Regions from separate parts of the Homo sapiens genome. Here all the other regions are linked to region 5. Evidence: promoter capture Hi-C in 16 types of primary human blood cells and fetal thymus (Javierre and others, 2016). All regions are on one chromosome and are shown on one strand. Each heading gives the region's core, a stretch centred on a gene start or on the middle of the fragment in contact. The rest is flanking DNA. Distances are from core to core; before and after follow the strand shown. Region 1 overlaps MECOM (MDS1 and EVI1 complex locus). Region 2 overlaps MECOM (MDS1 and EVI1 complex locus). Region 3 overlaps MECOM (MDS1 and EVI1 complex locus). Region 4 overlaps MECOM (MDS1 and EVI1 complex locus). Region 5 holds the start of MECOM (MDS1 and EVI1 complex locus).

The links. Contacts are between HindIII fragments. The CHiCAGO score rates a contact against its expected background, and 5 or more counts as called.
Region 1: a contact is called between a fragment that was not itself captured here and the fragment with the promoter of MECOM in region 5, in 2 of 17 cell types (megakaryocytes and endothelial precursors). The highest score is 7.2, in megakaryocytes.
Region 2: a contact is called between a fragment that was not itself captured here and the fragment with the promoter of MECOM in region 5, in 1 of 17 cell types (endothelial precursors). The highest score is 6.4, in endothelial precursors.
Region 3: a contact is called between a fragment that was not itself captured here and the fragment with the promoter of MECOM in region 5, in 1 of 17 cell types (endothelial precursors). The highest score is 5.6, in endothelial precursors.
Region 4: a fragment that was not itself captured here is called in contact with the fragment with the promoter of MECOM in region 5 in 2 of 17 cell types (fetal thymus and endothelial precursors); the score reaches 5.8 in fetal thymus.

Annotation. Positions count from the first base shown.
Region 1 is chr3:169,387,684-169,390,383 of GRCh38, forward strand. All of the region lies in intron 1 of MECOM (MDS1 and EVI1 complex locus), which reads right to left. Among named protein-coding and RNA genes, the nearest start is that of MECOM-AS1, 59 kb to the right of the region's middle. The HindIII fragment of the contact is 409 bases long and covers 1,136-1,544 here.
Region 2 is chr3:169,228,717-169,231,449 of GRCh38, forward strand. The region is part of intron 2 of MECOM (MDS1 and EVI1 complex locus); the gene reads right to left. Among named protein-coding and RNA genes, the nearest start is that of MECOM-AS1, 220 kb to the right of the region's middle. The HindIII fragment of the contact is 2,158 bases long and covers 318-2,475 here.
Region 3 is chr3:169,285,790-169,288,673 of GRCh38, forward strand. The region is part of intron 2 of MECOM (MDS1 and EVI1 complex locus); the gene reads right to left. Among named protein-coding and RNA genes, the nearest start is that of MECOM-AS1, 160 kb to the right of the region's middle. The HindIII fragment of the contact is 5,133 bases long and covers 1-2,884 here.
Region 4 is chr3:169,159,429-169,162,279 of GRCh38, forward strand. All of the region lies in intron 2 of MECOM (MDS1 and EVI1 complex locus), which reads right to left. Among named protein-coding and RNA genes, the nearest start is that of LINC01997, 160 kb to the left of the region's middle. The HindIII fragment of the contact is 3,396 bases long and covers 1-2,851 here.
Region 5 is chr3:169,662,205-169,665,093 of GRCh38, forward strand. It overlaps MECOM (MDS1 and EVI1 complex locus), which reads right to left and starts at 1,508. Exons shown (of 17, transcript NM_004991.4): 1 at 1,132-1,508. The coding sequence starts at 1,168. RefSeq lists a silencer at 400-499. The HindIII fragment of the contact is 2,702 bases long and covers 1-1,729 here.

The sequences.
Region 1 (2,700 bases), core at 90-2,589, 270 kb before region 5:
CTGTACACATATATGCATATAATACACACATCCATGTGTATTTGCAATCTGTGTGTAGGGGTGTGTGTGTGTAATAGCTCCCTAATCTTAAAAATAGGCTGAGACAGAAACATGATTTGAGATCCCAGGCAGACTGGTTGAGATCATAACTACATGAAACAACTGCCAAGAGGAGCTCAACTAGGGAATTGAACAGATTAGGTAACTCAGAAATTTAGACATTTCCCCCCATTATGTTCCTCATTGCAGTTTTGTAATAAAAACATGAGCAAACTTCAAAGGAAGCTCTGTAGTAAAGGTTAATTGCTACTAAAGAAGAGGGTGGGCCCAAGCGCCAGTACTTTGTGCCCAACTTGCAAGCAGACAGGAAGGATTACACGTGGCTGAGAGCGGAGGATGTGTGCCCTGCTCTAGGAGGAGAACAGCTCGGCCAAACCTCAAAGCCCCACTAGGGACCTCCTGGTAGGACGTGAGCACATGAGCACAAGTCCATGAGCTGATGCCTGCTAACAGTGCGGCAGGGAAGGGAGGGGGAAGACATCAATTTCCTTACAAAATTAAAACTGGACATGCTCTTCTTCCCTTGTTAGGACAATTCCAGAGCAGTTACAGAGGCTTGTTTGTGAGAAAGCAGAGGACTTCGGGAGCCAGCTCTTCTGCACCAGTAACACAGTGAATAAACACGTGCTGGGCTTGGGGAAAAGGGTGGAGCTCAACTAATGCCAGATGCACAAACAGAACAAAGAAGGAGGCTATGAACTGGCCAGCAAAATCTTCTATGAGAATGGCCCCAAGATAATGAAATTTAAGATCCCAAAGAAACGAAGAAAGGAAACTAGTAAAAGTAGGGAAAATGAATTTCCAGAAAACTGACTTAAACAAGCTGTGAAGGACTGTAGCAAGGGTGCAGAATTACAGGCTTAGAAAACAGAGACATTGAATAGAATGGGAACTGCTGATGGGCATAGTCTTTAGCATGTCCTGCTCCAGAGGGGAGTGAGAAGAAAAGAGACTTAAATGGAGTGTTTGGACACTGGACTGAATCTGTAGAACCCGTGTCTCTAGATACGACCATTATGTTTGGAAATAATCTATCAACATGGCTTGGCACTAGAATTTTTTTAATGACCCTCTAAGCTTCCTTGCACTTTTAGTATTTGCTACTTCATAGTACCATGCTATTCCATGTCTTCCTTATGGAACTTTTCCCCAGTGTTTCCTAAAAATATTTCATATACGAGTTGTCAAAAAGACTCAGAATGGAAGTATTGGGGGCAAGATAGCAAGGGAGATGGCAAAGAATGTGATACGGATGGAAAATAAGGGACTAAATCAATGAGCAAACTTTTATTTTTCTCCTGGTATTGCGGCATACTGTTGCATGTCCTGTGGCTTTTAAATCTGGTTAAGAGATTTTCCACTCCTCTAGGAATTTCACAGACATTTCACTAAATAAATATGATTTGGGAATTAAACTAGTACTCCTAAGCTATTAAAAAATGGGCTTCGCCTCTTCCAAAACTTTCTCTTCAGAGATGGAACTAAGCTTTTGTCAAAAGGTAATGGAAAGAAATTGCTAGAAAATTCATACTTGAGGTACCAGTAAAGCCATTTGGTATCTAGTTACTGAATCTAAAAGAGCTAACGCAAAGACATTAAAGTTCTGTGAGTACTATTCCAAAGGAAAACATGAGCTGGTTAATGTTTGGCTTATTCTGTTGTTAAGGAGCCACCGTCACCAATATCCACTGGAATGACCAGGTAAGAACAGACTTATCACATATCAGATAGATAGTTTTTCTTTTATGTTTTAGCTATGTGCCTCTACTTTCTTTTGCCAGTACAAATTTTTGAGAGACTTTTAGCAACCTCTGATGGACCTGATGGGCTTTTTCTTCATAAGCTTTCTATGTCCCCAAAGTGATTTTCCTTCAGATTCATTTAGAGGAAAGTAGAACCGTCCTGAATTCATGCTGCAGCAGACTGGGTGGTTACTCCTCAGGCAATCTGAAATGACCAGAGTACAGCCTTTCAGTATTCCAGCCATATCTACAGTAATTATTTGCCAGCATATCTAAAAGAAGGCAGGCATTTCCTGTTGCACACAAATGGGACATTCTTATCTAAATTACTGTTTAAACAGGTATTTAAGAAAAGACTATCACAGTCAGGAATTTACTGATGACGGAACACATTAGTTTAGGGCTGGACACATTAGTTGAGGACTAACCATTGTCAAGAAAGGAAGTATATCAGCATCAGGAAGGTATAGAGAATATTTTACAACTCCCATATGGGTCAAGATGGAGGATTGTAAACTATGCCATTTGCATTTGGAGAAAGCAGGAGGGTCACAAGTCCTGGCATGGAGTTGTGCTTGCGTCAATATGTTGCTGAACCCTGGAGTAACCTTGAGAGGCAGAGGCTGAGAGTCATAGCTGCTTGGGGTCTCTGTTTCCCTATCCATAAAATAAGCATGTTGGACAAGTTCATCCCCAGGTCCATTCCACTCAAGCAATCCCAGTTCTACATAGTAGAAACCAGAAGGTGGTCAAAATTTGGTGTGCCAAAAGCTTATAAAATGTATTTCCTGGAAAGACACTCTGAGAATTGGTTTGGTCTCTCCCAACATGTAACCTAGGAGAGACTGTGCTCTAGCTGCCTAACCTTGCTCTAACCAGTGAAACTGGAATTTATTCC
Region 2 (2,733 bases), core at 147-2,646, 430 kb before region 5:
GCATACTTGGTGTGAGTCTAAAAGTGTTTCGGCTTTCTTCATTTTGTTTTTATTGCCAAGTTGGACAGCATTAGACGGAGCTGTTCTGGAGTTAGAAGGATACAATAGTCTGCAGTTTTAAAAGTTTAAGGCTTTTTATGCTTTTAACTCAAACACACCTTTTAAATCCCAAATTGGGCCACTCTTGGAGCTCACTGTATGCACTGATATTTTGGCTCACTGGGTGTGATAACAATGGACACAGTGAAGATGTTATTCAAAGCTTTTAAAATAAAACACAAAAACACTTGATAAAATAATGCTGATTATATGGCCCAAGCTTTTCACACTCACATATACATGAGTGTTAACTGCACTGGCTTGGAAACACTGGTTCTGGCTTTCTAGTCAATGGTCCGTTTACTTACAGTAAAATCTTCCAGAGGGGTTCCATAAAAATCTGCTCTGCTGTAAAGAAAAGGCCAACCTTACCAACTCCTTATACAGGAACTGAAGAGATTCCTTAGGCCTGTTGGGACTGTGATTAAGTTTAGCTAGAAAGTGCCATCCACGCATGTGAGATGGTTGGTGACTACCAAACGGGCAAGTGGAGAGGCAGCCAGCAGACACCAAATAAGTCACAAGAGCATCTCAACTAAAATTTCTGAACCCAAAGGCTTATGAGACTGAGAAATTATATTCTCTGGTCAGTCATGAAACTTGCTGCTTGGTCTTCTGATCAGAGTTTCCAGGGACTGGCAAGGCTTAATCTTAAATCCATGGAGGGGCCGAGGTTACTATCCTGGGTCAGTGATGGTCACTAGCCAGGGAGTTAGGTGAGGGTCCTTAGAGATGAAAGAGGCCCATTGAGCTGAATGAGGTCTGGATTCTGGTTGTGAATTCTGTTTCTACTACTTTCAATGGCCCTGGTCCCCTCCTGCAGGTCATTTTTAAAAGCTAAGCCCAAAGTATCTGAGTGGCTTGGATAAGGTGGCTACTGTGAATATGCCCTCAAGATAGCACTCATGAGTGTGAGATTCTCTGCACTTCAGAAGCCTCTACAACCAGGTGCTATTATGCTTTAAAACACACTAATATAAGAGACTATGATTTCCTAATCAGTTTCATGGGTTATTTCTCTATTCTTTCAGCTACAATGTTTTTTCATGTCATAATATAATGTGGGTAAAAAATACTTGCAACATCAAGTTGATTAAACCAAAATAAAACTAAACAAAGAAAATTCCAAATAAAGGAAGATTAAAAATGCCAAACAGCAGACTTAATTGCATTTTTGAGTTATCTTTCTTTACTCCAATGTCAAGGAAGAATACTTCAGGGGGCTATTTAGGGATAATACTTGAATATACAAATACTCTCTTTGGATTTACTTCTATGTTTACAAAAAATTTCTCAGGTGTCTTGAGGCAGCTACCTCTTCTCATAAGCCACTAACTCCTATGTTCACCTCATTTCCCTCCAGGCCAGAACTTTGAGACCTCTGTCTACCATCTTGGCTTTTCTCTAAATTTCCTCTTTTAGTGCCAAAAAGAAAAAAAAAAGGTTCTGGATTGCAAGTTCCCTTTATCAACTTAGCCAGCTTTTTTCTTTCTTGAGATACATGGGATATGAAGCATCTTGCCTCCTTGATGTTATAATAATGCAGTGATTTCAACTTATACAGCTGACCTTAGCTTTTCTTTGAGATACCAGGTTAAAAGTGGGCAGATTTTATAAATAGGCCAGTCTTCCTAATGGAAGTTTGAATGTATCTCCAAGATACCAGTTCATTATGACTTAATTCTCGATTTTGTTATTGATTTATTAAAAAGATGCATAACAAGTATCTTTTAAATATCAAGCTCTAAAGTAAGTTTTCTCCTCTGAACTCCAACTCACACATATAACTATTTTCTGAAATGGTTTAATTCTGCTCTGAAAGAACCCACAGCAGTAGGAATAATAGGTTTAGCCTCAAGATTTCTGCTGAAGAGCAGAAAAGAGGCTTCTACCTTTCATGGCCCATGGTCTGACTTTTACCCAAGCCTACTTCAATTTTTAAATTTCCTAGATGGTCATTTTGAAGGTCAATCATTGGTTCACTTTCACAATGGAGAAGAATAGTTGCCGCAACATACAGAATTGTTTATCTTGCCCCCATTCCCCTCACATAAGATCTTCAATGGTTCCCCCACTTTATCATAACTTTGTTATTATCAAAATAACAACACAAATAGAAAATATATTGTCTTTTTAACTTTCACTTTTATTAACTTGCCATTCATAGACGTTTGTTTAAATACTCTCTCTTCTCTCATCCTTCATTCATCATAAGAAGCATGCCCTCTACAAAAGATTCCCAAAATATTCTTGGTGGAAATAAAATCTTTGACAATTCTGGATGTTATTGCATCTATAGTCTTGATCTCTCCAATTTCTTACAATTGTAGTCTTTTTCTGTTTTTCCTTTTGTTGTGTCTATTGAATAAAATTGGAAGCTTCTCAAATGTAGTGCATGCATAAAGTAAACATGTTGTTCATTCTTTCATTTATTCACTTTTTCATTCATGCATTCATTCACCCATAAAACATTTATTCAACACCTACTTGCACCAGACACCAGGCTAAATACTGGGGATAAGGAAGTCTACAAGACTCACAAGTTTCTTGACTTTCAGGAACTTATATTCTGGCAGGACAAGAAGGGAGAGGCACATCATAACAAGTAAATGTAAATAAACTAACAAGTTACTT
Region 3 (2,884 bases), core at 251-2,750, 380 kb before region 5:
TGGTGTTTCCTTGGGGGAATGCATTCCAATTTCTTAATGGGGTGTAATCAGTAACATGTTTGCTTCAGGCCTTATAATGATGATGCTGTTAACTACATTCAACAAAAATCCTTTAAAACAGCTGTTTTCAACCAACTTTCGCTGTGAATGTACTTTTGTGTGTTTAATGTACTTGGCAAGCATTTGAAAAAGCCCTTGCCTACTGTTTTATTTGTTTCCATTTATGAAAACATGCATTCGCTGTGAAAATCAGATGCATTTGTAAAGTTATCAAGGAACCCATAAGAAAATCTACCCTCTCCTTGCCATCATCAGCAATTTCTGAATCATCCACAGTGAAATTCACTTCGAAGAAACTTCTGTGGATTTGTTTAACCATAAAATGATCAGTAGCTCTTCTTGAGGCAAGAACAGAATGAACGTATTTCTTGAACTAAGTTCTCTCAGGTTAAATGAGAGAGGGACCCAGTAGGGCTGCCTGGATGAGGTTCAGAAGCAAAGATTTCCTTCTAGGCAGCTTCCCCCTCTGCTACCTGGGTGATTCATACCCAAGTTGTTGACCAAGCCCTGTTGTCTCTATCACTTATTAGTCTTCCACTCTGAAATGCAAAACTTATCCTCGATGCAGAGCCTGAGTAAGAATAGAATACCTTCCCTTCTTGTAACATTATCCAGCCAGGAAACAGGCAGCATGTACTAATGGTTGGTTTAAGTCTGGTCTTTGTTTTCTGTCTTCCACGGTTGACAACGCTCCCTGCAAGGAATCAGGCCAAAATAAAACTGCCAACCACCATAGTGCATAAAATTGTAAAAGCAGGACAAAAAATTCCTTGCCATTTTTATGTCCACCACTCCCTAGATTAGAAAGGATTGTTGCTATATGATCAACGTATTAGGTTGTGTTGTTATAGGTATTTGTAGGAGTCAGGGTGTACAATTAAAAAACAAACAAGCAAACAGCAACAGACCCACATTACAGACATTTGCCTGCTACCTGGTGAGTCCTCAAAAGGGAGGTAGCCCGGCAATTCCAACGCCCCGAGAAGAACCCAGAAGCTGTTCTTTTCCAATTTGCCTCCCTTATTCTGATCTCATTTCCTCAGTGCTGAACTTATACCTTTATCTGAAATCACTGGGAAGGCAGCTACTTAAACAATAAGAGAAACTAGTGCATTGTTTAATTTGCCTCTTCCATGAGTCCTAAATAATAAATCTCACAACATTCCTTGTACTCGGTGTGATACTGAATGCCAAACCCCAGCTCGGCAGCTGGAGTCCTATTTCCTGGGCCCTCCGAAGATAGAAAATATCACATTTCTATTTCATTCGACCCTTTCTCTCTCTCTGTCATGCTTCGCTGCCTTTACAAGTCACCATTTCACTGTTGCCACAAAGATTACAAGGACCCTAACAGGTAAGGCCTCCAGGAAACACGGATGGAGAGGGCCTGAAAGAAAGGCAGAGGACTGCCAGGCTTATCTGCTCCCTATCTCACCATTGCTTACCACAGGGCCTGTCCACTGACAGCCAAGCTGTCCTGAGGCAACAGCTCAGTAATAAGATACACAACAAATAATGTTTTTTTTGTTTTGCTGGAAAAATATATACTCAGGTAATTAAATTGTTAACATGATGGATGACCTTATTTTATATTTGAATTCAAAGTGACTTTCTGTATCATTCAACTAAAATGGCTTGATGTTATTAAAAAAATAAAAAACAAAGCATAATTCCAGAGAAATGGGAATATAGATTTTTGTTGATTTACTTTAGAAACAAACATGGGTAGTTGTTACTGTGCTGGATTGTAATGTTTACTTGAAATGCATGAAGCTGGTGTTCAAATCCTATATTCATTTTTTTCATTCCTAATTATTTGTACAATTAGGAATTGTATTTTATGGATACAATTGTTGTATCCTTAAAAGTGAGGCCGTAAAAAAATTGTCAATAAATATGCTTTGGTTTATGCAGGAAGAGCAAGAACATATTAGAGATACCTACTGTTCAGAAGGTTCCAGAAGCAGGGCCCTTGTATAGGAGTTTAAAATGTTAATGGACATGCATTCCGCCCACGTTGAATCCCATACGACAATATGTTTTGTGCCCAGGGCATGATTCTGACTAAATCAATAAACCACTCTAAGTCTGATAAAAGTTTTACAAAATATCCAAGACATTTAGAGTAATTGTTAACATCTGCTCATTATTCAACAGTGTAAGCAGGTTTAGAAGCCAGATAAATATATTTATTCATCAGCAGCCAGCATGTCACTGCTACCTCAGTGGTGATATAAAACAGTAAGACATTAGAACTTGCCTTAGTCTTGGGTTCAGAGAATACAAATGAACCATTATGGAAAAAACAGAAAATTCTGCTTTCTCCATGTTTTACACTTGGGGGGTAGGGGGAGAAAGAGGAAAGAGGCAAGTTTTAGTAAAAAAAAAAAAAATCTTGATAATTTACTTTGAACTAAAAACCTGGGGAATAGGCAAGAAAAATAAATATAAGAAGTACAAATCTTAGAGAAGGAATCTGATACAAATCATTGCTACAACATAAAGAGTATCTTTCTTCTTTATTCTCCAAAACACAACTTAATTTTGATTTCTTCTTTCATTTCACAATATAAGAAAGTTATTTCTACACTGGAAGGTTAAAAATGGGCTTTTTGAATATAACATTGAAAAGGTTCTATCAGAATGAAATTAGTTCTTTGAGAATATTTAGCAATTGGCAGTTGATTTGTCCTGAACCAAAACGAGCAGCAGAGCCATCATTTAATAGTAACAAGAAAATACTAATCAAATCACATTCACGCTTATTGGGGTGGGGAGGCATCTGAAGTGGTATTCTATGGGGTTTTGTTGTTGTCTCATGTAA
Region 4 (2,851 bases), core at 118-2,617, 500 kb before region 5:
GGCACCTGTAATCCCAGCTGCTTGGGAGGCTGAGGCAGGAGAATTGCTTGAACCCGGGAGGCAGAAGTTGCGGCGAGCCAAGATCACGCCACTGCATCCAGCCCGGGCAACAGTGCGAGATTCCGTCTCAAAAAAATAAATAAATAAAATTGCAATAATGGGACTTCTAAGAAGTTATTAGGGTTAAACAATTGAGGTGAAGTATATAAAGCACTTAGTGTAATATCTGGTAAATAGAGACTCATAAAGAAGTACAGTACTTGGAGAGATAGCATAAATCCAAATAAAAATTTTAAAAAAGAAGTTTAGGATAGTGACTAACAACACAGAATCTGCAGTGGGGCAGCCTGGATTCAAATCACAGCTTCGCTATGTGCTTGGGGTGTGACATATGTAAAGTTACTTATCAGCTTGGTTTCCTCCTTTGTAAAATGAGTATAATGATAAAAAGTATCTCATAGGGCTATTGAGAGGATGAAATGAGGTAATCCATGCACAGCACTTAATTTAGTGTCTAGCACATACTAAGCACCTAATAAGCATGAGCTATTTTTAAATGGAGTTCTAACTCAATAAAATCGTTGGTACTTCCTATGCAAATGCCCTCTGTGGTTTTTTTTGTTGGTGGTGGATTTTTATATAGCCATCTTTATATCAAAAGAGAAACAAATATTTTGTCCCTTTAATTTATTTTCTGGTCACTCAGGCAGCAATTTGCTTCTGAGAAACAGAGATGGAAACATATAGAGCCAGAGAAGAATAACCAAAATAAGTGATAGGAATACAAATTCATAATGGTGTCTAAACACTAAGCCAGGAATTGCAATCCGAATGGGGAAAAACATTTTCTGAGAAAGGATTTTTTTGGAGACAGATAAAAAAAAAATGAAGAAAAATAAGAATCTTCAAAATTACGCTAGAAATGATATGTGTTTTTTAAAATAAACCTTGAACAGAAATTATGTTTAAACTACATTTTCCTCAATATTTGAAGTAAGCTAAATGAATAAGATCTAGTACTTGATAGCACAACAGGGTGACTACAGGGTGTAACTTTTAGTTATTTTTAAATGTACAATAATATATTGTATAATAATATATTAGTTATTTTAAATATATATTATATATTTAACAATAATATATTAGTTATTTTAAAATGTACAATATATTATTGTACAATATATTATTGTACATTTTAAAATAACTAAAATAATATATTGTACATTTTGAAATAACTAAAAGAGTATAACTGAGTTGTTTGTAAAACAAAAAAAGGCTGAATGCTTGAAGTTATTGATACCCTCATTTAACCTGATGATATTATTATGCATTATATGCCTGGATCAAAATATCTCATGTACCCCATAAATACATACACCTGCTATGTACCCACAAAAATTAAAAATTAAAAATGTTTTAAAAATATACATTTCTTCAGAATGTGGTAAAAAGAAGACAAAACATTCACAGAAAAGGAAGGACAATATACAAGATAAAACATTAGTGTGAATCCAGAGGACCTCAGTAGACGCTGTTCAATTTTGGGTGCAAAAATTGGTTCTGCTGGCTGGGAGTTTATGTTGCAAAGCAGGACAATGAGTTCAACACGTAAACCAACTTAGTTCAATTTGCTCCACAAGTATTTATGAGGAATCTTCTATATCCTGGCACATCATTTGACATTTAGTGTACATTGATGATTAAGTCATGGTCACCACCTTTAAGTAGCTTTAAAATCCAATGAAAAAAATCTATTGTGTTGGCCATTGGTTACATACCACACCCTATAGTTAGTCATAAGGGAACTGAACCATGCATGGATCCTGGGGAATCATTGCCACTACTGGGAAGACCAACCCTAATATAAGTGCTGGCAATGGCAGCTGAGCCTCAGCATCCTTATATACAGCAAGAGAGGCACAGTCTTATTTTTGCATTCTTACCTTGACACTGCCATCAAAAGGGGTCTGACCTGGATATTTACAAATTCCCTGAGCCAACAGTTCAGAATTTAGAGGATATGGACAGACCTAAAAGAAGACAAAAGACTTTTTTTTCCTGATTAAAAAAAATACTGGTCACAGATTAAAGACAAACCATTCACTCATTTATCCTCTCCATGTTCCAGGTACCACGTTGATGGTAAAGAGAGAAGATAAATATACTGAATACCCATCTGTGATGGTTTTAAAATATATTAAGAAATTTTAAATTTTCTCTCCCCTTCTTCAAAAAGTGGTCTAATTCTCCTCATGTTGAATATAAGCTGAGCTTAGTGACACACTTCCGATAAACAGAATGAGGAGAAAGGGATGCTATGTGAGTTTTGAAATTTGATTATAAAAAAGAAGAGTCTCTCTCTCTCTCTCTCTCCCTGTCATTCATGTTCTGTGGATATGATGCAGCCTGTAGAAAGGCCTATGCGGGGAACAATTAGGATGTGCCAGCTATGTGAAAGAGTGGCCTTGGAAAACAAATTATCCAGCCTCAGTCCCATTTTTAGGTGACTGAAGCTGCCATTTTCCCTGTGACCTGATGAGACCCTGGACCACAACTGCCCAGCTAGCTGAGCCACCCCTGAATTCCTAAACCATAGAAACTGAGAACACTAAATGTTTACTGTTGTTTTCAACCATTAAGTTTTGGGATAATTTGTGGGGCAGCAATAGATACCAAGCACACCAGCCACAGCTCTTTGGTGGATACGGAGAATTCAGTTGCCTGATGTCCTCAGACCATCAGAGAATAGCTCTGGGATATTTCCCTGGCCCCACAGCACTCTCTCTGATTCCTTGGCTTTTGACTCACAGGTTGAAAATTACCAAACCAAACATGCTGCAGGATAAGGTTT
Region 5 (2,889 bases), core at 258-2,757:
TCCCGCCAGACCAAGGCCGCTCCGCGCCGGGCAGGCAGGGGGCGCCGGGGAGGGTTATTGACCCTGGACCCAGGCTGCACCCAGACGAAGCGCCGGAGGCTGCGCTGCGCCCTCTCCGCGGCCCAACGCTCTGGCAGCCCGCCCCCTGGGGTTTGCTCGGCGCCCAGCAAGCCCGAGGTGCGCGGGTCGCAGCGCGCCCTCTCTGCCTCCTGCTCCTAGGCTGCCGCCGCTGGCTGTGTGCCCTCCACTCCCGGCTCTCCGAGCGCTCGCTGGGCCTCTTCTCTCCCCACGTCCGAGCGCTCGCTGGGCCTCTTTCCTCCCCACCTGCGCGTGGCTGTGCGGAGCCGGTAGCTCTGCTCTGCCCGTGCCCCCGCCCCCACCCCGCGATCACAGCCCCCACCTTGGTGTCCCCTACTCCCCGCCGCAGTCCTCCCGCCGCGCAGCGCCGCGCCGGAGAGCATGGCCGAGCGCACAGCGCCCACTACCGCAGCCGCGGCTCGGCGCAGTCCACCCGCCCGCCCGCGCAACTTCCAGCGGCCGCCTCGCAACTTTTCCCAAGTCCACCACAGCCGCCCGCCGCCGCCGCCACTGTGGCTCCCTCTGAGCCGCCTACCCTACCCAAACCCCAGAAACAAACCGAGGCTCGAAAAGGCTCCCTTCTCCTGCCGGCCCCCCATCCCCCGCGCCCCCCTCCTCCCACACCCGGGACTAGCTGGTTGGCCAGAGGCAACTCTCCCCCGCCTGGGGGGAAGGGGAGGGGAGGGGGAGACTTTCTCCTCTTCTCTTCCCCCCCACCCCACCCCTTCGCGCTCACTCTCGCGCTCTCTCCTCCCTCCCACCCCTAGTCTTTGCTGCCCCCACCCCCACCCCCACCCCGGGGTTGCCACAGCTGGTCGGTGCGCGGGACTGAGGGCTGCCCAGGCTCCTCCGGCGCCCAACCCGGGAGCGAGAGCGCGGGCGACCGGGAGCAGAGACTGGAACCGGCAGGTTGCTGGGGCTGCGCTCCGCCTGCCCTCCACCCGGGGCCCCGGCGCAAGAGGCAGCCCGCGCTCCCTCCCGGAGCGCTAGAGACAGATATGCAAGATGGCAGAGGAGGGGGAAAAGCCAATAGAAAAGGGATATTGCACCTACTTGTGGCCAGTTTCCTTGCCCTGCCTTTGGATCTCATGCTGTGCCCAGTCCTGCAGCCGCTGGTGTGTGGTTGGGGCTTTTTTTTCTTGGATCCTTTCCTTCTTTTGCTCTCCCTCTCGCTCCCTCCCTCTCTCTCCTGTCTCTCTCTCTCTCTCTCTCTCTCTCTCTCTCTCTCTCTCTCTCTCTCTCTCTCTCCCTCCCTCCTGTTTCTCTCCTGTTTCTCTCTCTCTTCCACACACTCACTCTCTGTATTTTCTTCTTTCACTCTCTCTCCCTCCCTCTCTCCCTTTCTCTCAATCCACACTCGCTATCTCTCCAGCATTGTCAGTTTGGACACCTTCGCACATGCGCGCTAGACGCCCCTCCAACATCTCAGCGCCGCCAAAAAAAGTTTGGAGCGATTTATCACTTTGATTTGGAGATCTTGTCAGATGGCAATCGCCGAGGAGGCGGAGAAAGGGAGCCGCGGGGAGGGCGGCGGGGGGCGGGGAGCGAACGCAGGGAGCCAGAGGGGAGCAGACACCTCGCCCAAAAAAAGGGGAGGGGGGAATTGAAAAGGCTTGGGCAGAGGATTGATTCCATGTTAGAATCGCCAACAAGCTTGTATCATGATTATTGTTATTGTTTTTCCCACCATAAATTGCAGACATTTTTCTATACCATCTACGAGGGAAGCAAGAAGCCAGGGGGGAAAAAAACTTTAAAAACATTTTTTAAAAACCCTTCTCCTGTTAAAGAACTAGAAGGGCTGGACCCTCGGCTAATAATCCAGGAGAAAGTGAGAATCATCCTGAACTTGAGAAATCTACTGCTGCCGCTGCTACTGCTACTGAAGCTATTGCAGCTTCCGCTTTCAGGGTTGTAAGCAGAATAAATAACTGGTTTTTTCCTCGATTTTAGCTGTAATACCAATGCTTGCTGCCATCCTTGGGACATTTCAGTATTCTTTCCCTACCAAGTAGTAATGATCACCCTTGATTCCCGGGTCCGGGCCGGCGCTGGCATTTGACATCCAAAGACCTCCTGCTTTCTCAGAGGTCGGCTGTCACCTTCCGGCCTCCCCCACTGCTGCCCCGGTCGCCTCCCGATGCAGCTCTGCTTGCCTGCCATTTTCACTCACTCGCTTAAACCTACAACCTCGGGGTCAAAAGAAAGAGGAGTAGGGAGGAAAATCACACACTCTTAAAAAAATACATTGTTGAAATTTCCTTTAATTACAGGATTTACCAATGAAGTGCCACTCAGAAATGGGAATTCCTAAAGGGGCTAGCTGTGTACAAGGTATGAATCAATCCCAACTAGGTATAGATTTTCTTTTGGTACAACCTTCTTGCATTAAACAGTTTTGTTCAATACCTTCCATGTGCTATTTATGTCCCCATTAATATCTGTTGCAAATCCTGCCAGACACCATAAAAGAAAATTACAATCTTTTCAGTCTCCGTGCTGCAACAATACATCCTTGATGTTCAAGTTAAAGGAAAAGAAAAGCAGGTCCTGGGCATGAGTTTGGCAAAGGCTGTGGAGGGAAAGGGGAATCATTGAGAATGCCCAGTCGTACCTGTTGGTATTTATTATCAAATCTAGGACTGCAGACATGAGAGAGCAAATAACAAGGTTCAACCCCAAAGGGTATCAATGGCCTGCAAATCTCTTTATTCAAGAGAATCAAAGTTCAAAGAATTTGTCCTTGTTAAGGATGCCTACCATTTTCCTTTATCCAGAGCTGTGTAATTCTGGGGGCATTTGGCTGTAAGA